7 separate regions of the Homo sapiens genome follow, and regions 2, 3, 4, 5, 6 and 7 are each linked to region 1. The links are contacts of gene promoters, found by promoter capture Hi-C in blood cells and fetal thymus (Javierre and others, 2016). All regions are on one chromosome and are shown on one strand. Each heading gives the region's core, a stretch centred on a gene start or on the middle of the fragment in contact. The rest is flanking DNA. Distances are from core to core; before and after follow the strand shown. Region 1 holds the start of NCAPH (non-SMC condensin I complex subunit H). Region 2 holds the start of CNNM3 (cyclin and CBS domain divalent metal cation transport mediator 3). Region 3 has its middle 5.9 kb from the start of LMAN2L. Region 4 overlaps LMAN2L (lectin, mannose binding 2 like). Region 5 overlaps FER1L5 (fer-1 like family member 5). Region 6 overlaps KANSL3 (KAT8 regulatory NSL complex subunit 3). Region 7 has its middle 39 kb from the start of GPAT2.

The links. The method cuts DNA at HindIII sites, captures the fragments that hold promoters and counts their contacts. A CHiCAGO score of 5 or more calls a contact.
Region 2: the fragment with the promoter of CNNM3 here is called in contact with the fragment with the promoter of NCAPH in region 1 in 10 of 17 cell types (naive CD8 T cells, naive B cells, neutrophils and 7 more); the score reaches 8.7 in naive CD8 T cells.
Region 3: a contact is called between a fragment that was not itself captured here and the fragment with the promoter of NCAPH in region 1, in 14 of 17 cell types (neutrophils, naive CD8 T cells, M1 macrophages and 11 more). The highest score is 13.0, in neutrophils.
Region 4: a contact is called between a fragment that was not itself captured here and the fragment with the promoter of NCAPH in region 1, in 2 of 17 cell types (naive CD8 T cells and naive CD4 T cells). The highest score is 6.0, in naive CD8 T cells.
Region 5: a contact is called between a fragment that was not itself captured here and the fragment with the promoter of NCAPH in region 1, in 1 of 17 cell types (monocytes). The highest score is 5.5, in monocytes.
Region 6: a fragment that was not itself captured here is called in contact with the fragment with the promoter of NCAPH in region 1 in 3 of 17 cell types (M1 macrophages, M0 macrophages and monocytes); the score reaches 5.9 in M1 macrophages.
Region 7: a contact is called between a fragment that was not itself captured here and the fragment with the promoter of NCAPH in region 1, in 2 of 17 cell types (M0 macrophages and M2 macrophages). The highest score is 7.4, in M0 macrophages.

The regions. Positions count from the first base shown.
Region 1 is chr2:96,334,109-96,337,252 of GRCh38, forward strand. NCAPH (non-SMC condensin I complex subunit H) reads left to right here and starts at 1,658. Exons shown (of 18, transcript NM_015341.5): 1 at 1,658-1,740. The coding sequence starts at 1,722. RefSeq lists enhancers at 1,131-1,972, 1,973-2,814 and a silencer at 1,733-2,052. The HindIII fragment of the contact is 5,174 bases long and covers 1-2,440 here.
Region 2 is chr2:96,814,605-96,817,748 of GRCh38, forward strand. CNNM3 (cyclin and CBS domain divalent metal cation transport mediator 3) reads left to right here and starts at 1,664. Exons shown (of 8, transcript NM_017623.5): 1 at 1,664-2,898. The coding sequence starts at 1,674. RefSeq lists an enhancer at 811-930 and silencers at 1,271-2,250, 2,261-2,400, 2,411-2,520. The HindIII fragment of the contact is 9,370 bases long and covers 1-3,144 here.
Region 3 is chr2:96,744,397-96,747,540 of GRCh38, forward strand. No RefSeq gene overlaps it. Among named protein-coding and RNA genes, the nearest start is that of LMAN2L, 5.9 kb to the left of the region's middle. The HindIII fragment of the contact is 2,172 bases long and covers 634-2,805 here.
Region 4 is chr2:96,721,332-96,724,475 of GRCh38, forward strand. The region is part of intron 4 of LMAN2L (lectin, mannose binding 2 like); the gene reads right to left. Among named protein-coding and RNA genes, the nearest start is that of LMAN2L, 17 kb to the right of the region's middle. The HindIII fragment of the contact is 956 bases long and covers 1,027-1,982 here.
Region 5 is chr2:96,665,968-96,669,111 of GRCh38, forward strand. It overlaps FER1L5 (fer-1 like family member 5), which reads left to right. Exons shown (of 53, transcript NM_001293083.2): 15 at 2,784-2,827; 16 at 2,919-3,001; 17 at 3,076-3,144. Among named protein-coding and RNA genes, the nearest start is that of FER1L5, 25 kb to the left of the region's middle. The HindIII fragment of the contact is 825 bases long and covers 1,052-1,876 here.
Region 6 is chr2:96,618,138-96,621,281 of GRCh38, forward strand. KANSL3 (KAT8 regulatory NSL complex subunit 3) reads right to left here. Exons shown (of 21, transcript NM_001115016.3): 4 at 1,535-1,625; 5 at 1,222-1,407. Among named protein-coding and RNA genes, the nearest start is that of KANSL3, 19 kb to the right of the region's middle. The HindIII fragment of the contact is 2,255 bases long and covers 581-2,835 here.
Region 7 is chr2:96,072,834-96,075,977 of GRCh38, forward strand. No RefSeq gene overlaps it. Among named protein-coding and RNA genes, the nearest start is that of GPAT2, 39 kb to the left of the region's middle. The HindIII fragment of the contact is 887 bases long and covers 1,243-2,129 here.

The DNA of each region.
Region 1 (3,144 bases), core at 408-2,907:
ATGACTCCTGGGTGCTGATTTGGGTTCTTGGGTGGCTGATGGTATCATTTGCTGAGATAAACAGTGTCAACCTGTTTTCTCTAACCCACACAGCCTTACGCTGAAGATTTGAAGGTGGTCACTAGAAGAACAAGTTTATACGAACAACAGATAGGCTTAAAAAGTGGTTTTCAGCCAGGCGCAGTGGCTCATGCCTATAATCCTAACACTTTGAGAGGCCAAGGCGGGTGGATCACCTGAGGTCAGGAGTTCGAGACCAGCCTGACCAACATGGTGAAACCCCATCTCTACTAAAAATACAAAAATTAGCTGGGTGTGGTGGTGGGCGCCTGTAATCCCAGCTATTCAGGAGGCTGAGGCAGGAGAATCGCTTGAACTTGGGAGGTGGAGGTTGCAGTGAGCTGAGATCGTGCCATTGCACTCCAGCCTGGGCAACAAAGCAAGACTCTGTCTCAAAAAAAAAAAAAAAAAAAGTGGTTTTCAACAAAGGGTGGCACTTTTTGATTGCCAAAATGAGCGACAGCACTGATGGCATTTAGTGGGCAAATGATGTTACGGGGGCTTAAGAGCCCACAAAGAGGGCAAACATCCTATCATGCCAAGGATTGTTTCACCCTGAATGCCAACAGTGCCCTTGAAGAGAAACACTGTAAAAGATGCCAGATATGAGAGTTACAAGAAATTCTAGGATGTGCTGGGGATATTCCAGGGAATCACCCTGGCCTTTACTCCCATAATTCAATCCTTAGGGTTAGATGAAACTGAGGGGACAGATGGCATTTTATGCTTATTTCGCTTTTTCGACCTTTATTTATTTTTTGAAGGGTGGGGGGTGTTCACAGGAAGCTATTCACAAGAATCTGAATAAAACGATGGCCTTCATCTTACACTATATTAAATGTACATTTTGTACTATATTTAATGTATACATAGCATTTCTGCATCAGTTCTTCCCCACCTGGACCGCTCCTCATTCCCACGTAGGCTCCCGCTCCCCTCCGTCCCTCTTCCCGGAGGTTTTCAGCGTTTTGCTGCCCACACAGCACAGATCTCTAAGGGAAATAAACCTCGTTTTCTCGATCATCTGCCTCCCCATTATAAAGTAAATTCCACGGGCTGAGCGCGGTGGCTCACGCCTGTAATCCCAGCACTTCGGGAGGCCGAGGTGGGCGGATCACCTGAGGTCAGGAGTTCGAGACCAGCCTGGCCAACATGGTGAAACCCCGTCTCTACTAAAAACACAAAAATTGGCCAGGCGTGGTGGCAGGCGCCTGTAATCCCAGCTACTCGGGAGGCTGAGGCAGGAGAATCGCTTTAACCCAGGAGGCGGAGGTTGCAGTGAGCCAAGATCGCGCCACTGCACTCCAGTCTGGGGGACAAGAGCTAGACTTCGTCCCAAAAAAAAAAAAAAAAGAAAGTAAATTCCACGAAAGACGGGCCTTGCTCACCCTGCTCGACGCTGGGTTCCCAAGCCCAGTCCTGCACCTAGTCCTCGAAGGAGGGGGTTTTCATACTATTTCAGGGGGTCCACCGACCCCAAGAAGCCCAATCAGACGGGGTCCTCAACCCAAAACTCACTCTGACGCCGCCCGCGGAGGCCCGAGGTGGTCTGCGCAGGCGCGCTGCTGGCCCGGCCCGCCGGCGACGTCACGCGGCCGTTACGGCGCTCAGGCGTCTCGACGCGCGCGATTTAAAACCAGCTCAGGAGACGCCAAGGAAAGATGGGACCTCCCGGCCCAGGTGAGCCGGGCGGTCGGGAGGCGCGGCGGGAAGGGCCCCTAGCGAAGCAGTACTTCGGGCGGGCAGGGCTGGCGGGCTGGCCTGGGCGGGGAGAGAGGATATGCTCAGCTCGGGTCTTGGCCCTGCGGCTGACAGCAGAGGCCGGTGCGGGGGGAGGGGAGGGCCGGCGCGGGGCGGGCGGACCTTGTGCGCTCAGCCAATCAGAAAGCGGCTTCGGCCGGAGTCGGAGAGCGCGCGGGCCCTGCCTCACACTCCTCAGTTCCCGGGCGGGCGGTGGGGCGGCCTCCTCCTTGGGCTCCTAAAGCGTGCTCGGTGTCTCTCCATTAAAATGGTGGTTTTCCTGGAATAGACGTTATTTTCAGGGCTTTGGAAGCGATGTGGTTACCGTTGTATGCTTAGCATGCATGCATTTATTTTTGCATCTATTCAAAAGTACTGAGCTCTCCCGTTGGGCGAACAAAATTGATAATATCTCTATACTGTTGGAGTTGGGGAGACAGACAGTAAACAAAAGAAATAATTACACATGAGGCTGAGTGCTGTGATTGAGTATAGCAGAGTAGGGGTGGCTCCGCCAGGGGTTCAGGGAAGATCTTTAGGCAGATACTAGGGAACGTGTTTCAGGCAGAAGGAGCAAGTACAAAAATGAGGCAGGGAAGAGCCTGGCCTGGCCTAGGACCTGACCAGAACATTGTGACCAAGCTTAGTGAGGCCTGACACGTAGGCAGGGTCTGGAGGCCTTGGGTAAGAGATTTGGAAATTGAGTTACATTTTGGACATGGTATGTGTGACTTACGGGAGAGACTCAGGTGAAGGGATCTATAATCACTTAGGTGAGAATTTGGCTCTCAGGGGAGTTATATGGACCACTCAGGGAAGTGACCCATGGATTGAGAAATAAATTTGGATACCATTATCATATAGACCATTAGACCATAAAACCATGGGAACAGGTGAGAACACTAGGAAGGCCCTGCACATCTAGGACCAACGTTTAGAAGCTGGATAGAGAAGGATGAGCTGGAAAAACTCAAAAGACAGTGGTATAGGAAGAAGCCAAGAGTGTTTCAACAAGGAAGGGACTGTCAGCTGTTTCAAATGCTGCTGGATTCCAAGAGAAAGGCCAGAAAATGACCATAGGGTTTAGGCAACATGGAAGTTATAGATGATCACGAAAAGATAGTTCTCATGAAGTTGGAATAGGAACCAGACCAGAGTGGGTTGAAAAATGAGTGGGAAATGAGGAAGTAGACATAGGAAGTGTCTTTGAGCTCAGTAACCATCGGTTGAATGAATGGATGCATAATATCAAAGGCAAGGAGAGAAACCACGGAAAGAAGATTTGGAGAATTAAAGCATGCCTCTAATTCCAAGTTTAGTTTCTCTCTTAGACAAGGTTCTCCT
Region 2 (3,144 bases), core at 414-2,913, 480 kb after region 1:
CGTGAGCCACCGTGCCCGGCCAGCTATTACCATCTTTTAAAAAGTTTTTTACAGGCCGGGCGCGGTGGCTCACGCTTGTAATCCCAGCACTTTGGGAGGCCAAGGTGGGTGGATCACGAGGTCAGGAGATCGAGACCACGGTGAAACCCCGTCTCTACTAAAAATACAAAAAAATTAGCCGGGCGTGGTGGCGGGCGCCTGTAGTCCCAGCTACTCGGAGAGGCTGAGGCAGGAGAATGGCGTGAACCCGGGAGGCGGAGCTTGCAGTGAGCCGAGACTGCGTCACTGCACTCCAGCCTGGGTGACAGAGCGAGACTCCGTCTCAAAAAAAAAAAAAAAAGTTTTTTACAAAGCCTTTTCCTTTGGTCACTCACCACCAGCTTACTCATTTTTTTTTTTTTTTGCACATTACCTTCCACACAAGTTTTACTTTGTGGCCACAATGTGCATACTTTTTTTGATTGTTACTTTCATGACATAGCAAATTGTTTCTATAGAGTCTTTATAAAGGTCATTTAAAATGACATGTGCAGTAAGTCAAAGTCTTCTTGTGCTAGGAAATTTGAAAAAACAAAAGTGTAGAGAAAAATACAAAAATTACTGAATCTGAACATCTATAGAGAAGTGTTGTTAGCAGTTGGTTTATTTCCTTCCAATCACATACAGATCATATCTGATGGGTAAAGAATATTCCATACTGTCAACAGACCACACTGTCTTCTAAAATCGCTTCAGCAGTGAGGATCCTCTGGAATAGATCTTGTTAATCCTGAGGAATTATTCTCCCAGCGGTGAGCTATGAGAAGTGGAATCACCAGATGTAGTAATTCCTGACAGAACTGCCGCCTGCTTGTGTGGCTGAGATGCTGACCTAGGTATCAGGCTGGTCGCGCCGGAACCCAGCACCCACGCTGAGTCTTTCTGAGCTCCACTCTGCTCCTGTTAGATATTAACCACCTGAGGTAGCTGTCCAGATTCAAGGCGGTAGTGATTTTGTGTGTCTGTGTATTTATCACGGGGTCCGCGGCGGGAACGCAGGGGCTGTGTCCCACGTCCCCAAACCTCTAGTAGGGTACGGCGCGATGAACATCTTCCATAAACCTTAAACCTCCCGGCGCTCAGTCACTGGTTCTTATTTCAGCCCTCTTAGCCCCGTAGGTCGGCGCGCTGAAAACCTTTCTGGTACCTGGGGCCTTTCCTAAGAAAAAGGCACATGTCTCGCACATTTCAGTCTGGTCTGCAACTTCAGGCGCGCCAGCACCCGAGGTTCTTCCGACCGGCCGCTCCGCTCCCAAGCCGGGAACTTCCCAGAGAATTGGCTCGGCCTCCGGGCGCGGGGGACAGCATCGGGAGGAGTGGGACTCCGGGCGCCGCGCACGGGCCGAGGACAGCCGGGCTTGGGAGGCCCTGCCCGCCGCCCCGCGTCCTCCCGGCCACTGCCACCCCGCGCATCCGGAGCCGCAGCAGACTCGGCGGGGCCCGGAGCCCCACGCCCCCGGCCCGCCCCTGGCCGCCACTTGTTTACTCCCCGGCGCAGCCTAGTCCGACCCTGGGGCCCGCCCCCGCCCACCGCCTATTGGCCGAGGAGGCGCGAAGAGCCGTAACGATTGGCCCGGGGAGGCGCGGGGCGAGCGGGGTAGGCTGCGCGAGAGGCCGAGAGGGGGCAGCAGGCGATGGCGGCGGCGGTAGCTGCGGCGGGTCGGTTAGGCTGGTTGTTCGCCGCGCTCTGCCTGGGCAACGCCGCGGGGGAGGCCGCGCCGGGCCCGCGAGTGCTGGGCTTCTGCCTGGAGGAGGATGGAGCGGCGGGCGCGGGTTGGGTACGCGGAGGGGCGGCGCGGGACACGCCGGACGCCACCTTCCTCCTGCGCCTCTTCGGCCCGGGCTTCGCCAACAGCTCTTGGTCCTGGGTGGCCCCGGAGGGGGCGGGCTGCCGGGAGGAGGCGGCCTCCCCCGCGGGCGAGTGGCGCGCGCTGCTGCGCTTGCGCCTGCGGGCCGAGGCCGTGCGCCCGCACTCGGCGCTGCTGGCGGTGCGCGTGGAGCCGGGTGGCGGGGCGGCTGAGGAGGCGGCGCCGCCCTGGGCTCTGGGCCTGGGGGCGGCCGGGCTGCTGGCGCTGGCAGCGCTGGCGCGAGGCCTGCAGCTGAGCGCGCTGGCGCTGGCGCCTGCCGAGGTGCAGGTGCTGCGCGAGAGCGGCTCGGAGGCGGAGCGTGCGGCGGCGCGGCGTTTGGAGCCCGCGCGGCGCTGGGCCGGCTGCGCCTTGGGCGCGCTGCTGCTGCTGGCCAGCCTGGCGCAGGCGGCGCTGGCGGTGCTGCTGTACCGCGCGGCCGGCCAGCGTGCGGTGCCCGCCGTGTTGGGCAGCGCGGGGCTCGTGTTCCTGGTGGGAGAGGTGGTGCCGGCCGCCGTGAGCGGGCGCTGGACGCTGGCGCTGGCGCCGCGAGCGCTCGGCCTCAGCCGCCTGGCCGTCCTGCTCACTCTGCCCGTCGCGCTGCCCGTGGGGCAGCTGCTGGAGCTGGCGGCGCGGCCCGGGCGGCTGCGGGAGCGGGTGCTGGAGCTGGCGCGCGGCGGCGGCGACCCCTACAGCGATCTCAGCAAGGGCGTGCTGCGCTGCCGGACCGTGGAGGACGTGCTCACGCCCCTCGAAGACTGCTTCATGCTGGACGCCAGCACCGTGCTGGACTTCGGCGTCCTGGCCAGCATCATGCAGAGCGGCCACACGCGCATCCCGGTGTACGAGGAGGAGCGCTCCAACATCGTGGACATGCTCTACCTCAAGGACTTGGCCTTCGTGGATCCCGAAGACTGCACGCCGCTCAGCACCATCACTCGTTTCTACAACCATCCGCTCCACTTCGTCTTCAACGACACCAAGCTGGACGCTGTCCTGGAGGAATTCAAGCGAGGTAACGGCCCGGGCATGGTGCAGGGGACGCCCGTGCGAGTGCCCTCTCCCTGAAAAGGGGTGGAGAGTTATGGAAGCCTTCTGGAAAGGGTCCCACCCCTGTGGAGAGCAGTGAGACCTCTAAGGTCCCTTTTCAAGACGGTATTGGCCTTGCAGCTTGGAATGACCTTTTGAAATACTTAAAGGCCATCGATCAGAGTGGGAGGAATCCTTTAGACAGCGAACACTTTAACCCCCGCGTCAGGAT
Region 3 (3,144 bases), core at 470-2,969, 410 kb after region 1:
TAATCCCAGCTACTTGGAAGGCTGAGGCAGGAGAATTGCTTGAACCCAGGAGGCGGAGGTTGCAGTGAGCCGAGATCACGCCATTGCACTCCAGCCTGAGCAACAAGAGTGAAACTCCATCTCAAAGCAAAACAAAAGGAAGGAGACCTGGGGTAATCCAGGTAAACAAGGGATCTTTCGTGAGAGGAAGGATGGAGAGGGTCTTATCTGAGTCACTGAGGAAGGGTGGAAGTGGGTCTTATCTTGGGATATTCCAGAGCAGGGTAGTCCGTTAAGACAGCCATCTCTCAGCTGGGCGCAGTGGCTCATGCCTGTAATCCCAGCGCTTTGGGATGCTGAGGCGGACAGATCATATGTCAGGAGTTTAAGACCAGCCTGGCCAACAAACATGGTGAAACCCTGTCTCTACTAAAAATACATAAAAAATTTGCCGGGCATCATGGCACGTGTGTGTAATCCCAGCTACTTGGGAGGCTGAGATATGAGAATCTCTTGAGCCTGGGAGGCAGAGGTTGCAGTGAGCCAAGATCGCGCCACTATACTCCAGCCTGGACAACGGAGTCTACAAAGTGAGATGGAAGGAAGACAAAAGGATGGGGAATTTCTTTACTGTAGGTGCTTTTCAGAAGCACAAGCTTCAGCTAAGTTCAACACAGTCAAGGTGTTGAGGGGTGGTAGTGGGAAAGAGAACAAGTAGCCATGGCCCCTTCAACGCCACCTTTTACTCACACGCAGAGGCACCTCCGAAAGCTGGCTCAGGTCTTGCGCTACCATCCTTTCAGCTGCCTAGTGGTCCCCTTTTTCTCTGTGGAATCATCTATCTCCCACGATCTAGGGCTGCACAACTTCAGGGCCGGGGTATTCATATGCAATGTGAGTTGTGCATTCCAGCAGTTCTGCATGATTCCTCTACCTTCCTGTCTTCCAAACCAAAGAGCAGGGCTGGGCGCAGTGGCTCATGCCTGTAATTCTAGCACTTTGGGAGGATCGCTTGAGCCCAGGAGTTCAAGATCAGCCTGGGCAAGATGTTGAGACCCTGTCCCTTTTAAAAAATTAAAAACAACAACAACCAAAGAAGTACCTCCACTCAGGAGCACCTTGAAGCCTGATGCCCCTTCACCCCATGACAGAGGCTCCAGGGCAGCCTCTTGGCCTATTCTTTCCACTGCTTCTCACCCTTCTTTTACAAACCTTGCCATTCAATTCTGATCCACCCCCTCCCAGGACAGAAGCAGCCCTCCCTAGGCCAAGTACAACCATCCATCCATCCTCAGGTATCCAGTGTGTCAGGTCCATCTTCAGCCCAATAGTCACAGCTGACCGGGTCCTACCAACTGTACCTCCAGTTCCCCAGGTAGCCACTGAAGCATACAAGAGGATAGCAGCTCCAACACTAACTAGCTAGCTACTTCCCAGCGGTGACTTCTCAACATTGGACTCCTGAAAGCCACAGTCAAATATCCTGGGGTAGGTACCTTTGCCTGAGCCCTACTGCCAGACACGTGACTCAACAAGTGTAGGGATTTAGCTTTGAAGAAAAAAAAATAAAACCTGGAGAATTTAATTTTTTTTTTTGAGAGAGAGTCTCACTCTATCACCCAGTGGAGGGCAGTGGTGTGATCACAGCTCACTGCAACCTCTGCCTCCCAGGCTCAAGCCATCCTCCCACCTCAGCCTCCTGAGTAGCTGGGACCACAGGCACATGCCACCACACCCAGCTAAATTTTATATTTTTTGTAGAGACGGGGTTTCACCATGTTGGCCAGGCTGGTCTCGAACTCCTGGGTTCAAGCAATCCGCCCACTTCAGCGTCCCAAAGTACTGGGATTACAGGCGTGAGCCACCATGCCTGGCCTTTTTTTTTTTCTTTTAAGAGATGGGGTCTTGTTCTGTCACCCAGGCTAGAGTGCAGTGGTGTGAACTGCAGCCTCAAACTCCTGGGCTCAAGGGATTCTCCTGGCTCAAACTCCTGGGCTCAAGGGATCCTCCTGCCTTAGCCTTCTGAGTAGTTGGAATACAGTCAGGTGTCACCATGCCTGGCTATTATTTTATTTTTTGTAGAGATAATGTCTTGCTATTTGCCCAGGCTGGTCTTGAACTCCCGGGCTCGAGGCATCCTACTACCTTGGCCCTCGAAAGTGTTGGAATTATAGGCATGAGCCATCGTGCCCACCCCACCCTCCACCAGAGAATTTAATACGCAGCCCAGTTTTCAGAACTACAGCCCTTTCACATGCAGTATCTCATTTTGACCTCACAATGACTTGTTGTGGTAATCTTTAAGATTAGGACAGGCTGGGCTCAGTGGCTCACACCTGCAGTACGAGCACTTTGGAGGCCGAGGCAGGAGGATCACTTGAATTCAGGAGTTTGACACCAGCCTGGGCAACATAGTAAGACCCCGTCTCTAAAAAATACAAAAAATACAAAAAATTGTCTGGGTGTGCTAGTGTGCGCCGGTAGGCCCAGCTACTTGGGAGGCTGCGACATTTTACCCCGGGGGTCAAGGCTGTAGTGAGCCATGATCAGGCCACTCCACTCCAGCCTGGGTGACAGAGAAAGACCCTATCTCTTAAAAAAAAAAAATGACAAGAACAGTTCATAGAGGCTCCAACTCCTGAATTTAAAGATAAGAATTAAAGATTTGCTTTAAGATACTCTAGAGGAATATCGTGTGTGTGTGTTTAGAAGGGTAGGATGGATAAACAAAAAAAGCATCAGGATGTTGAGAACTGCTGCAGCTGAGATAGGGGTGCACAACACTCCCTCCAGCTTCATGGATGTGTGAGAGTTGCCGTAAGGAAAAGCTTCTCAAAGTCTCCCGTGGAGATGATGAGGAAATATGCTGGGTATGCATTTGTGGTGTTTTCTAAATTTCCCTGAGGGAAGGAAAACTGTAATTAACTATAATCTAGTAAAGTTCATTGTGACCCATCCAATATAATGTTGTCATAACTAAAGAGAGAGGCGTCTGCAATCTAGAAAAAGAACAGTCAAGGGATGAAAATAAGTCAGAGTTGTATCAGTTCTGTCCAGGAAAGAGAGTGCTTCTAAGCAGCCTGTGTTAGATCTCCATATAACTTTATTCAAATAAAGCCTATTTTCTGAGCGTATTTATAAAGACTTCCAGCCTAACGTTCTAAT
Region 4 (3,144 bases), core at 255-2,754, 390 kb after region 1:
TTTTTTTTTTTTTTTTTTTGAGACAGGGTCTTGCTATGTCACCCAGGCTGGAGTGCAGTGGTGTGATCAAGGCTCATTGCAACCTCGAGGTCCTGGGCTCAAGTGATCCACTCACCTTGGTCTCCTAAAGTGCTAGAATTACAAGTGTAAGCCACTGTGCCTGGCAATTACTCCTACTTTGTTTTTTTTTTGAGACAGTCTTGCTCCATCGCCCAGGCTACAGTGCAGTGGCAATCATAGCTCACTACAGCCTTGACCTCCTGGACTCAAGCAATCCTCCTGCCTCAGCCTGCAAAGTAGCTGGGACCAGCTAATTTTTTTTGTTTTTTGTAAAGATGGGGTCTCCCTATGTTGCCCAAGCTGATCTAAAACTCCTAGACTCAAGCAATCCTTCCACCTTGGCCTCCCAAAGTGTTGGGATTATAGGCACGAGCCACCACACCCAGTGATACTTATTTTCATTGCTGATATTTCCATTATAACAATATATCACATTTTGTTTATCCTCTAATCCAGTAGTCCTCAACCTTTTTGGCACCAGGGACTGGTTTCCTGGAAGACAATTTTTCCATGAACCGGGGAGTTGGAGGGGGGGTGGTTTCGGGATGATTCAAGCACATTACATTTATTGTGTACTTTCTTTCTTTTTTTTTTGAGACGGAGTCTCACTCTGTTGCCCAGGCTGGAATCCAGTGGCGCGATCTTGGCTCACTGCAAGCTCCGCCTGCCAGGTTCACGCCATTCTCCTGCCTCAGCCTCCCGAGTAGCTGGGACCATAGGTGGCCGCCACCACGCCCGGCTAATTTTTTTGTATTTTTAGTAGAGACGGGGTTTCATCGTGTTAGCCAGAATGGCCTCAATCTCCTGACCTCGTGATCCGCCCACCTTGGCCTCCCAAAGTGTTGGGATTACAGGCGTGAGCCACCGCACCCGGCCTGTGTACTTTATTTCTATTATTATCACGTTATAATATATAATGAAATAATTATACAGCTCACCATGATGTAGAAATCAGCGGGAACCCTAAGCTTGTTTTCCTGCAACTAGATAGTCCCATCTGGGGGTGATGGGAGACAGTGACAGATCATCAGGCATTAAATTCTCCTAAGGAGAAAACTAGATCCCTCGCATGCTCAGTTCATAAGAGGGCTCCTGCTCCTATGAGAATCTAATGCCACCACTGATCTGAGAGGAGGCGGAGCTCAGGCAGTAATGAGAGCAATGGGGAGCAGCTGTAAATACAGATAATGCTTCACTTGCTCGCCCACCATTCACCTGCTGTGCAGCCTGGTTCCTAACAGGTTGGGGACCCCTGCTCTAATCAGTTGATGGACATTTAAGTTGTATCCATTTCTTGGCTATTATGAATAATGCTGCTATGAACATTCATATAAAAGTTTTTGTGTAGGCCGGGTGCAGTGGCTCATGCCTATAATCCCAGCACTTTGGGAGGCCAAGGCGGGCGGATAACTTGAGGTCAGGAGTTTGAGACTAGCCTGGCCAACATGGCAAAACCCGTATCTACTAAAAATGTAAAAATTAGCCAGGCGTGGTGGCAGGCGCCTGTAATCCCAGCTGCTTGGAAGTCTGAAGCAGGGGAATCACTTGAGCCCAGGAGGCAGAGGTTGCAGTGAGCTGAGATCACGCCACTGCACTTCATACTGGGCAACAGAGCAAGACTCCATCTCAAAAAAAAAAAAGTTTTGTGTAGATGTTTTCATTTCTCTTAGGTACACACCTATGAGTGGAATTGCTAGATCATGTAAAGTCTATGTTTAGTCATTTGAAGAAATGTCAAACTTTTCCAAAGCAACTACACCATTTTACATTCCCACCAGCAGTCTATGAGGGTTCCAATTACTCCATATCCTTGCCAACACTTCTAATCTTTTTTATTTTAGCCATTCTAGCGGGTGTAAAGTAGTGTCTTATGGTTTTAATTTGCATGTCCCTGATGGCTGATGATGCTCAGCCTCTTTTCAAGCTTCTTGGCCACTTGTATATCTCTTCTAGAGAAATACCTATTAAGATCTTTTGCCCATTTTCTAATTTGGTTGTCTTACTATTGAGTTGTAATAGTTCTTTACGTTTCAAACAAATCTCTAATAAGATATGATTTGCATATATCTTTTCCCATTCTGTAGGTTCTTTACATTTCCTTGATGATGTCCTATGAAACACGTAAGGTTTCAATTTTGATGAAGTTCAATTTATCCTTTTCTTTCGTTGCTTTTTCTTTTGGTGTCACATCTAACAACTGCCTGATCCAAAGTCAAGAAGAATCAATCCGATATTTTTTTTTTCTAAAAGTTTTATAGTTTTAATTTTTACATTTAGATCTTTCATCCATTTCGAGTTAAATTTTCTGTGTGGTGTGAAATAGGGAATAACTTCATTATTTTACACGTGGATAACTAGTTGTTGAAAAGATGATTCTTTCCCCATTGAATTATCTTGTGGAAAATTAATTGATTAGACCGGGCACGGTGGCTCACGCCTGTAATCCCAGCACACTGGGAGGCCGACGCGGGTGGATCACGAGATCAGGAGATCGAGACCATCCTGGCTAATATGGTGAAACCCCATCTCTACTAAAAACATATATATTAAAAAAAAAAATAGCCAGGCGTGGTGGCAGGCACCTGTAGTCCCAGCTACTCGGGAGGCTGAGGCAGGAGAATGGCGTGAACCCAGGAGGCAGAGCTTGCAGTGAGCCGAGATCGTGCCACTGCACTCCAGCCTGGGAGACAGAGCGAGACTCTGTCTCAAAAAAAAAAAAGAAAGAAAAAGAAAATTAATTGATTAAATGTGACGTTTTATTTCCAGACTCTCAGTTCTATTCCATTGATCTGTATGTCTACCCAGATGCCAGTAGCACACTGTCTTTATTATTGTAGCTTTGTAGTAAGTTTTGAAATCAGGAAGTGTGAGCATTCCAACTTCACTGTTTGTCAAGATTATTTTGGTTATTCTGAGTCCCTTGAATTTCCATATGGATGTTAAGATCAGCTTGTGAATTTTTGCCAAGAAGCCAGCTAAGTTTTTGAGAGGTAGGGACTGCATAGAGCAATGTGGGGAGTACTGCTATCTTAACAATACCAAGTCTTCCAATCCATGCCATAGAACATCTTTCCATTTACATGG
Region 5 (3,144 bases), core at 214-2,713, 330 kb after region 1:
AGATGTTCAAACACCCCTGGAACCTCATCCATTTTCCCCAGAACACAGTCTCCAGGGTGGGGCCCTTTGGATACTGGCCTGATTGCCTTTAGCCCTTTGGAAATGCAGCAGGCAGGTGTGAACCTCTCTCTGAAGAGGCAGAACAGCCAGCCACACAGATGGCAGCATCTGAGGCCAGGTGGTCAGAAGGGGAGCAGAGCCCAGGGCACTGCAGAAAACTGGCCTGTACCAATGGTCAGTCCGAGGGCCCCAGGGCAGAAGGGGAGGCAGCACACTAGATGAGGAACCAAGAAGCAGGAGGAGAATTATTAGCAGGATGGATGGAAAGGTGGTTCCGCCATAAATCTGAACTTGGAGGACTCCTAACTTTGGAAGACCTGGATGCCTTCTGGTGCCGATCTCTCCCCTTCCAATGTCCTTCCTTAACCTGGGCAATTTCCTCCTTTCTTACTGACTAGCTGCTCACCTGGAAAGCCCTTTCCTCTTCTCCTTGGCCCCTTAGCTGTCAGGACCCAGGGAGAATGGGATGAAGAAAATGGAAAGCTGGGAGGTTCCCAGCCACATCCCAAGAACTGCTGTAAGGAGAAGAGGCCCCAGCTGAGAGGATTGAGGATTTGGGGTCCCACTCTGGCCTCAACCCAGCAGCTCTATTTTACACATGGACACATGGATTTTTTTCTTTTATTTATTTATTTTTTTTTTTTAGACAGTCTTGCTCTGTTGCCCAGGCTAGACTGCAGTGACGCAATCTCAGCTCACTGCAACCTCCACCTCCTGGGTTCAAGCAATTCTTGTGCCTCAGCCTCCTGAGTAGCTGGGACTACATGCATGAGCCACCATGCCCAGCTGATTTTTTGTATTTTTGGTAGAGATGGGGGTCTCAATATGTTGTCCAGGCTGGTCTTGAACTCCTGGCCTCAAGTGATCCTCCCACTTCAGCCTCCCAAGTACTGGGATTACAGGCATTAGCCACCGCATCTGGCCTCTTTTCTTTCTTTCTTTTTAAAAATAATTGAGGAAACCATAATGCAGAGTGGAGATGGGACACAGAAGCTTGGGTAGGAATCCTGACTCCACCCCTTACTATGTGACCTTGAGCAAGTCCCTCTGCCTCTCTAGGCCTGATTCCCCATCTCTTTATAGGGACAATCACAGTCCTCAAGGGGTTACAGCAGAGTGGTTTTGGCAACTGCATGTAGCATGAGAACTTCAGGAACTCAACCTCTCTGATCTCAGCTTTCCCATATGAAAATGGGAATAATAATAGCACCTGGTTCATGAGGTTTTTAGGAGAGCCCACTCAGCTGGTCTATGGAATTTGTTTAGCACAAGCCAGGGGCAACAGAAACCTCCTAAAGAGGCAGCTATTATTATTTATTCTTTTTTTTTTTTTTTTTGAGACGGAGTTTCGCTCTTGTTGCCTAGGCTGGAGTGCAATGGCACGATCTCAGCTCACTGCAACCTCCTCTTCCCGGGTTCAAGTGATTCTCCTGCCTCAGCCTCCCGAGTAGCTGGGATTACAGGCATGCGCCACCACACCCGGCTAATTTTGTATTTTTAGTAGAGACAGGGTTTCTCCATGTTGGCCAGGCTGATCTTGAACTCCTGACCTCAGGTGATCTGCCCGCCTCGGCCTCCCAAAGTGCTGGGATTACAGGCATGTGCCACCATGCCTGGTTTATTATTTATTCTTTGAGGAGACAGATATACTGCTGTTTAAAAAGTTGATGGCTAGACATGATGAAGACATTCTAGGCCCACGGCCTCTCCATGAGATGGTTTGGTGAATGTGCATTCAGACTGCGAGGGGCTGTATGAGGACAGTAATATCTACCAGCCCACAGTCAGGGCAGACTCAGGTGTCAGAGGGGCCTGAAGCTTATGCAATTAGGGGACTTTTTTTTCTTTTTTGAAACAAGGTCTCACTCTGTCACCCAGGTTGGAGTGCAGTGGCACGATCATGGTTCACTGTAGCCTCAACCTCACGGGCTCAAGCAATCCTCCCACCTCAGCCTCCTGAGTAGCTGGGACTATAGGTGAGTGCCACCACACCCAGCTAATTTTTGTATTTTTTGTAGAGAGAGGATTTCATCATGTTGCCCAGGCTGCTCAAGTGATCTGCCCGCTTCAGCCCCCCAAAGTGCTGGGATTACAGGTGTGAGCCACCATGCTTGTCCAGAGGGCCATTTTAAAGACAAAAATACAAAACGATCATGTGACAAGTTCCAGGCCCCTCTCAGGACCTTGCAAGGGGCCTATTCAAATGGGAGGCCCAGCTGGGCGAGGTGGCTCACACCTCTAATCCCAACATTTTGAGAGCCCTACGCAGGAGGATTGCTTTTGCCCAGGAGTTCGAGACCAGCTTGGGCAACATAGTAAGGCACCTGTCTCTACAAAAAAAAAAAAATTGTTTTTAATTACCTGGGCCTGATGGCAGGTGCCTGTAGTCCCAGCTACTCAGGAGGCTGAGGCGGGAGGATCGTTTGAGCCTGAGAGGTGTAGGCTGTAGTGAGCTATGATCATGCCACTGCACTCCAGTCTAGGTGACAGAGCAGCACCCTGTCTGAAACAAAACAAAGCAAACCCCCAGAAAACAAGAGGCCCTAAAGCCAAAGCTCGATTCGCTTGGTTCAAAATCCAGCTTTTCTATGATGAAGTGGCTCACTGGTAACTGAGCCAGGACTTGCTCCCAGACCCGCGACTCCCTACCTGTTCTTAAAATCTCCACGAGGGCCAGACCATCCCAATGTGTACCCACCGCACCTCTCTCCTTCCCTCCACAGCTACCCTGCCTCTCCAGCTACATCAAGTTCAGAGTCTTGGACTGGTGAGCAACCTGGTGGAGGCTGAAGCACACAGGGAAGGAAGAAATGAGAGCTGGGCCGGGGGCTCAGCCTGAGGAGTGTGTTTCTCTCTAGCCGCAAGAAGGACTGCCCGGATGAGATTGGGACTGCCAGCCTGTCCCTCAACCAGATCTCGTCCACCGGAGAAGAGATAGAAGGCAAGCAAAGCCTCGAGCCCACTTCCTACACCCCTCGTCCTGCGCCCGACCCTTCTCACTCTCTCTCCTTCCAGGAGTGTACTCCGGCTTCCTGCCCTGCTTTGGCCCCAGCTTCCTGACTCTGCATGGGGGTAAAAAGGCCC
Region 6 (3,144 bases), core at 458-2,957, 280 kb after region 1:
AGAGAGGAAGATCCTGTCTCCAAAGAAAAAAAAAAAAGGCCTCAGACAACTTGGATTGATTTGGTTCTTTCTCTTCTCTCTCTCTCTCTTTCTTAGAGACAGGGACTCCCTCTGTCACCCAGGCTGGAGTGCAGTGGTGGGACTGAACTCACTACAGCCTCCTCCCACCAGCCTCCTAACTAGCTGGGACTACAGACGTGTGCCACCATGCCTGGCTAATTATTTTATTTTTAGTAGAGACAAGGTCTTGCTATGTTGCTCAGGCTGGTCTCAAACTCCTGAGCTAAAGCGATCCTCCTGCCTCAGCCTCCCGAAGTGCTAGGATAATAGGCATGAGCTACTATGCCCGGCCGTGAGGCCATTTTGTATTGGAGCAAAACACCCCAAATATTTCAAGAACCTATGAGGGTACTACTTAAATAACTGTTAATATTAGTAATAATAATTACTGTGGGCTCACTGCTTACTATGTGCCCAATTTTGTGTTAAGCCCCCTACCTGAATTAACTAATTTAATTTTCATAAAAATCCTAGATAGCTATTATTATCAGCCACATTTTAGAGATGAGACACCAGTCCAAGCTTACACAGCTAATCAGTAACAAAGCTGAGATCAGCCAGGCAATCTGCCTCCAGCATCCGCATTCTACCACATTGACGATAGCCTGATGCAATCACTGGAATCACCAAGAAAAACAGTTTAACTTTGTGCAATACTAAGTAAGAAAGCAGGGAACTATAATGATATGTTTGTACTGAATTATAAAAGTCTAAGTGTTGCTACTAAAGGCTCATGCCCTGGGGAGCAGAATTGAAGGCATCACGGCACGTTCCTGCTCTGCAATCTCCCAGTGCTCCGAGCACCAAGGGTCTGCTTCTGTCACCTTTCTCAACAAACTCTTCCCTGGTAAACCCTTCGTCTCCTTCATGATAATTCAATTCAGCCATGACTCAAACCACAAGCTGCAAGGCTAGGAAGGCTAAATGTATACTCTGGTTTTCAGGCCCCATACCTCATCCTGGAGCCAGCAGGGCTGAAAACGTTTACACCAGACACAAATGTGAAATGATACCCTGTCTCCCAATTTTAGTACCAAACCCATTAGTTTTGGCCATGCACTCCAGACCGACCAGATAATTACTTTGCCTAACCCCACATCCTGAACCCACAGGGGAGGATGGCTATCCCTAGGACAGGGCAGACCCCAATCACAGCCTTACCTTCCCCTTCAGCGTCTGCAAAGCATCCAGGTAGGCTGCCAGCATGGGCAGACTCAAGGTCTCCACAAGGGTGGTGTGCAGCCACTGGATCAGCTTGGTATCCCAGCTCACACTTGCCAGAGCCTGCCGCACTCTCCTTGCACACTTGTCCACAGCAACACGGCGCAGCACTGGCTCATTACAAGCCTGAAGGATGTAAGTGGAAGTAATAAAACATGAGGACTACCTGGTTAACAAGCAGGGGGACAAGTCAGTCAGCCAGTGAGGCCTGAACTACGAAGAGCCCACTGTGGGCGGATTGCTGGTGTCTTACCCCTTCGTTGGCCAAGCGGGCAAGCCGGTCAGACTGCAGGGCTTTGAGGATCTTGTTGAATAGCTTGTTCTGGGCCATTGTCCAGCCAGTCCTATAAGGGAAACTCTGAGGAATTATAGTCAAACCCTGGGGACGCTCCCCATGTATGTACACCATATAAAGAAGATTATGCCATAGTTTTATGTCTCTGCTAGGGAACAGTAAAACGAAGTAGCTTAGTCTAAGACCACTGACCTAAAACACAAGACCTAGATTCTTCTGGTCTCAATCCTACCAAATCAAATCGTCACAGCACACACTTGTATTAATAATACACACATACACACAATAATATACACAGTACAAGTCAAGACTAGTCATGAAAAAAGTCTTTCAGGCTAGCAAAGCTAATTACTTACTTAGTAGCTAAAATTATTCCAATCATAAATAAACGCACAGCACCACTGAACAGACGACATATTTGAATTTCATAAGTTTTATATTTCACACAAAAAGGCAGACAGGATCAGCAAGCATTTTAATGTACTAAAATCTCAGACTGAGGTAAGAATTCTATTTAAACTAGGCTTAAGAACAAAAATATAGCAGAAATATAACCAATAAAGAGGCTATTCTTCCACTCCTCAATATTCTACCCCACACTAATCTCTCTTTTCCATATATATTTTTTGTATTTTTTCTATATGCCACACAATTAGCAAATTTATTTTTGAGAGGCCTGCTCCATATAAGCTAATATGTTATCATCCCAGCATACGGCACTGGTATTCACACATCTACCTTATTGCTTATTGCTTACCTATTACTTACTGAGGCTTTGTGTGTTGCAGACATCTATCCTACTGTTCTTATCTCCACCTCATCACACCCAGTTTAGTGATATGGAGCTTATTATTGTCCCCCTTCACCCCACTCCCAGCAATCTTAATTACTCAGATGCTCTAACTCTGGCTAGTGACCTTCCTAAAGATACCAAAAGAAAGGCAATTGAAGATGCTCTATTAATATGTGTTTTCCTATTCTCCCTGCCTTAAAAAAAAGCTGATGGTGGCCAGGCGCAGTGCTTCACGCCTATAATCCCAGCACTTTGGGAGGCCAAGTGGAGTGGATCGCTTGAGTCCAGGAATTCAAGACCAGTCTGTGCAAATGGCAAAACCCCATCTCTAAAAAAAATACAAAAATTAGCTGGGCATGGTGGTGCGTGCCTGTAGCCCCAGCTACTCGGGAGCCTGAGGTGGGAGAATCGCTTGAGCCCAGGAGGTTGAGGCTGCAGTGAGCCGTGATCATGCCACTGCACTCAAAGCTTCAGTGACAGTGAGGCCTTGTCTCAAAAAAAATAAAAATAAAAATAAAAAATTACCTGGGTGCTACACCCAAATGAGACCCTGGAATGGGATCAAGGTAGCATTTCAAATCAGTCTGGATAAAGTCCCTAAATGTAGGGCTGAGACAACCACAACTGGAAAAAGAAAATCTGATCCCTACATATCATTCTACATCAAATTTCAGATGGAAGAAAAAGAAGACATAAAAGGAAGAAAGAGAAATGTAACTACATAAAAATTTCAAACTTTGGCCAGGAGTCTGTAATCCCAGCACTTTGGGAGGCC
Region 7 (3,144 bases), core at 436-2,935, 260 kb before region 1:
AGCGGAGATATTTCTACCTCTCTAGCTTCCCATCCTCAAGAATGTGGCTGGGCCAGACCTGGACTCTGAGGACATTCAGGGACACTGTGCCTCACCAGCCCTCTGAAGCGCTCAGAACGCGTGTCCTGACCCAGCTGCATGCCAGGAACCGTGCATTGGGAAGTGGGTGGACAGGAGAGACAAGACATGCTCCTTCCCCCAGAGGAGGCTGCAGGCAGCAAGCGAAACCCTTAGGTAAGATCGGAACAGCCGTCCACCACTGGGAGCATGAGCTGCATCCTGCCTTGGGGGGCCGCTTTGGTGGGAGTGTGCTGGGCAGAGAAGAAGGGAAGGACATCCAGGCAGAGGGGGCTCCTGGGCAAAGGCTCGAAGGTGCAGAGGTGAGAGGCATTTGGGAGCTGGTGAAGGCATTGGGGGTGGCCTCCTATTGGGGAGGAATGAAAGGGAAGGGCTCCTCTGGCAGGGGCCCCGTACTTTCCCGTGGGGACTTGAGTGGGGCTGGCTCTGCACCCCCACCCCTGCCCAGGGAGGGCTCCACTGTCCTGGGCTGACCAGAGAAGCAGTGGGTTCTGTCAGGAAGGGGAGGCTTCTTTAGCCCCGTTCATGAGGCAGCTGGGGGAGGAGGAGGAATGCAGTGGCATCCCACAGAGTGGCCCCGGGCCACTGACCTGCCCTCTCTGCCCCATTTCCTCACCTGTGACACAGAGACCCACACACCCAAGCCTCTAATCTGCTTCTAAGAACATTGTGAGAGCCAGTGATGATCAGAGGACTGCTTATTGTAAAGCAAAAGCTCCAGAAGGCTGTAAGTGAACAGGCCTGGGACATGAGAGCTAAAGGGCCCTGGGCTATCTGAGTGTCCAGCCTTCATTTAACAGCAGAAGAAACAGACCCAAGGAAGTCAGAGAATGTGGCCAAGATGAGCCGATGAGTTCGGGCAAAGACAGAACCCTGCCTTCTCTCCTGCACCATGCTAGCTCCAGACTGGCAACCCTTTCTCACCTCTGCCTGCTTCATCCCAAAACATTTCTCCTCAGCCTGGGTGCTGAATGGGATCACACCATTAGAATGGTTTCTTGGACATGGTTACTACGCATGCCTTTCTTGGGGAGACTTTAACAGGGAATCAGTCACTCACACTTTAGTATGAATTAGTTTTATCAGCAGTTATTTAGCATTAGTAGCATGAGGATTTTAAAGAAAAGAGCAGAGAGAGGAATACCTGTGGACCTAGGAAGGACAAGCTTGAATGGGCCCAAGACAGCTGCTACAGTATAAAGAGGAGATCTGGTTTCCAGTCCAGTTTCTAGAATGTATTCACTCTGAGCCCCAGAGCCCATCTCTATAAAATGGCAGCCATCAAGTACTTGAATCAGAAGTCCCTTCCAGGATGACATTCTGGTTTTCTCCACCGTAGGAGAGGGTCCCCAGAAGCGGACCAGGCTCAGGACAGGAAGGCCAGGCCTCTGGGCTCTTCATCTCATGGGCCAAGCCCTGTCACAGATCTCCACAAAGCCAAGGCTCCAGCAGGAGTCAGTCACAGAGGAAAACGCTGCCTCCTCGGCAATGCAGGAGGTGGGCTGAGCCCCAGCCAACCCCATCTTCAGCTCTCAGCAGCCTCTGCCAAGCAGGAGGCCCTGACTCTCCCGTGACAAACATAAATATTTGTTCCATCTGTGAGTCCTGACTTGGCTACAGAGCTCTGTCGTGTCCATTCTCTTTCTTTGGTAACAGTACTTTACTAAAGTGCAGGCTAATTAACATATAGTGAAGTACACAAATCCTAAGCTATAGCTTGATACATTTCTACAAATGCATACACCTGTAACCATCACTTGCATCCAGATAATCAAAGGAACTTGCAACGGTGTAATTGTATTGATCTCTCTCTGCCTGTTGCACTAGTGTTATTATATATTTTACTTCCACATGCTTATTATTTTGCTTTAAATGGCCAAAAGTGTTTTTTAAAGTAAAAAACAAAAGATAATCTCTTATATTTTCCACATATTTACAATTCCTGGTCCTTTCTATTTCTTTTGGGTAGTCTGGGCTTCCATCTGAGATTCTCTCCCTTTGGCCTCAGAAATTCCTTTAGTACTATTTATAGTGTTGCAATGAATTCCTTAAGCTTTCGTTTGTCTAAAAATGCCTTAATTTGGCCTTTATTTTTGAATGACATTTTTATTGGATATAGACTTCTAAGCTCACAGAATTTTTCCTTGAGACCCTTTAAAGTGGTTCTTCAATTGTCTTCTAGCTGCCTTTGTTTCTAGTGAGAAATCAGCTACAATTCTTATTGTGTTTCCCCTAAATGTAACCTGATTGTATTTTCTGGATGATTTTAAGATCTTTTTGCCTTTGTTTTCTAGCTTGATGATGATATCTCTAGGTATAGCCTTTCTTGTATTTATGTAGTTTAGGGTTATTTTTATTCTTGAATCTGTGGGTTGACGTCTTTCATGAGTTTTATGAAGATGTGTTCAGTCATTCTCTCTTCAAATATTTAGTCAAGCTCCATTCTCATTCTCCTCTCCTTCTGGGACTCCAGTTATACATACAACATGCCATTTAATATATTGTTTGATAGCTTTTGATGCTCTATTACAAGGGTTGCCAAACTTTTCTAAAGGGCAAGACTTAATATAGGCTTTGCAGGCCATATGGTCTCTGTCACAACTACTCAGCTTTTCTGTAAACAATGTCTGGTATGTCTGGGATCCATAAAACTTTATTTACAATAGCAGGCAGCAGGTCAAATTTGGTCCATGGGCCCACAGTTTGCTGACCCTTCCTCTGCTCTGTTGTTGTTAGTTTCTTTCCGTGCTTCCACTTGGAGAACTTAGTTTGACCTGCCTTTGAGTTATTGATCCTTTCTTCTGCTTGTATCCAATCTGTTGTCAACCCTATGAAGTGAATACTTCATTTTAGATTCTGTATTTTTCAGATCTAGAGTTTACATTTGCTTGTTGTTAATAGACATTATTGTTTATTTCTTTGTTAATAGATTTTATTTTTCAGAGCTGTTTTAGGTTCACAGCAAAATTGAGCAGAAAGTACAGAGAGTTTCCTTATACCCTATGTCCCACACATACACAACCTCCCCTACTATCAACATTGCCCACCTGAGTGGTACTTTTCTTA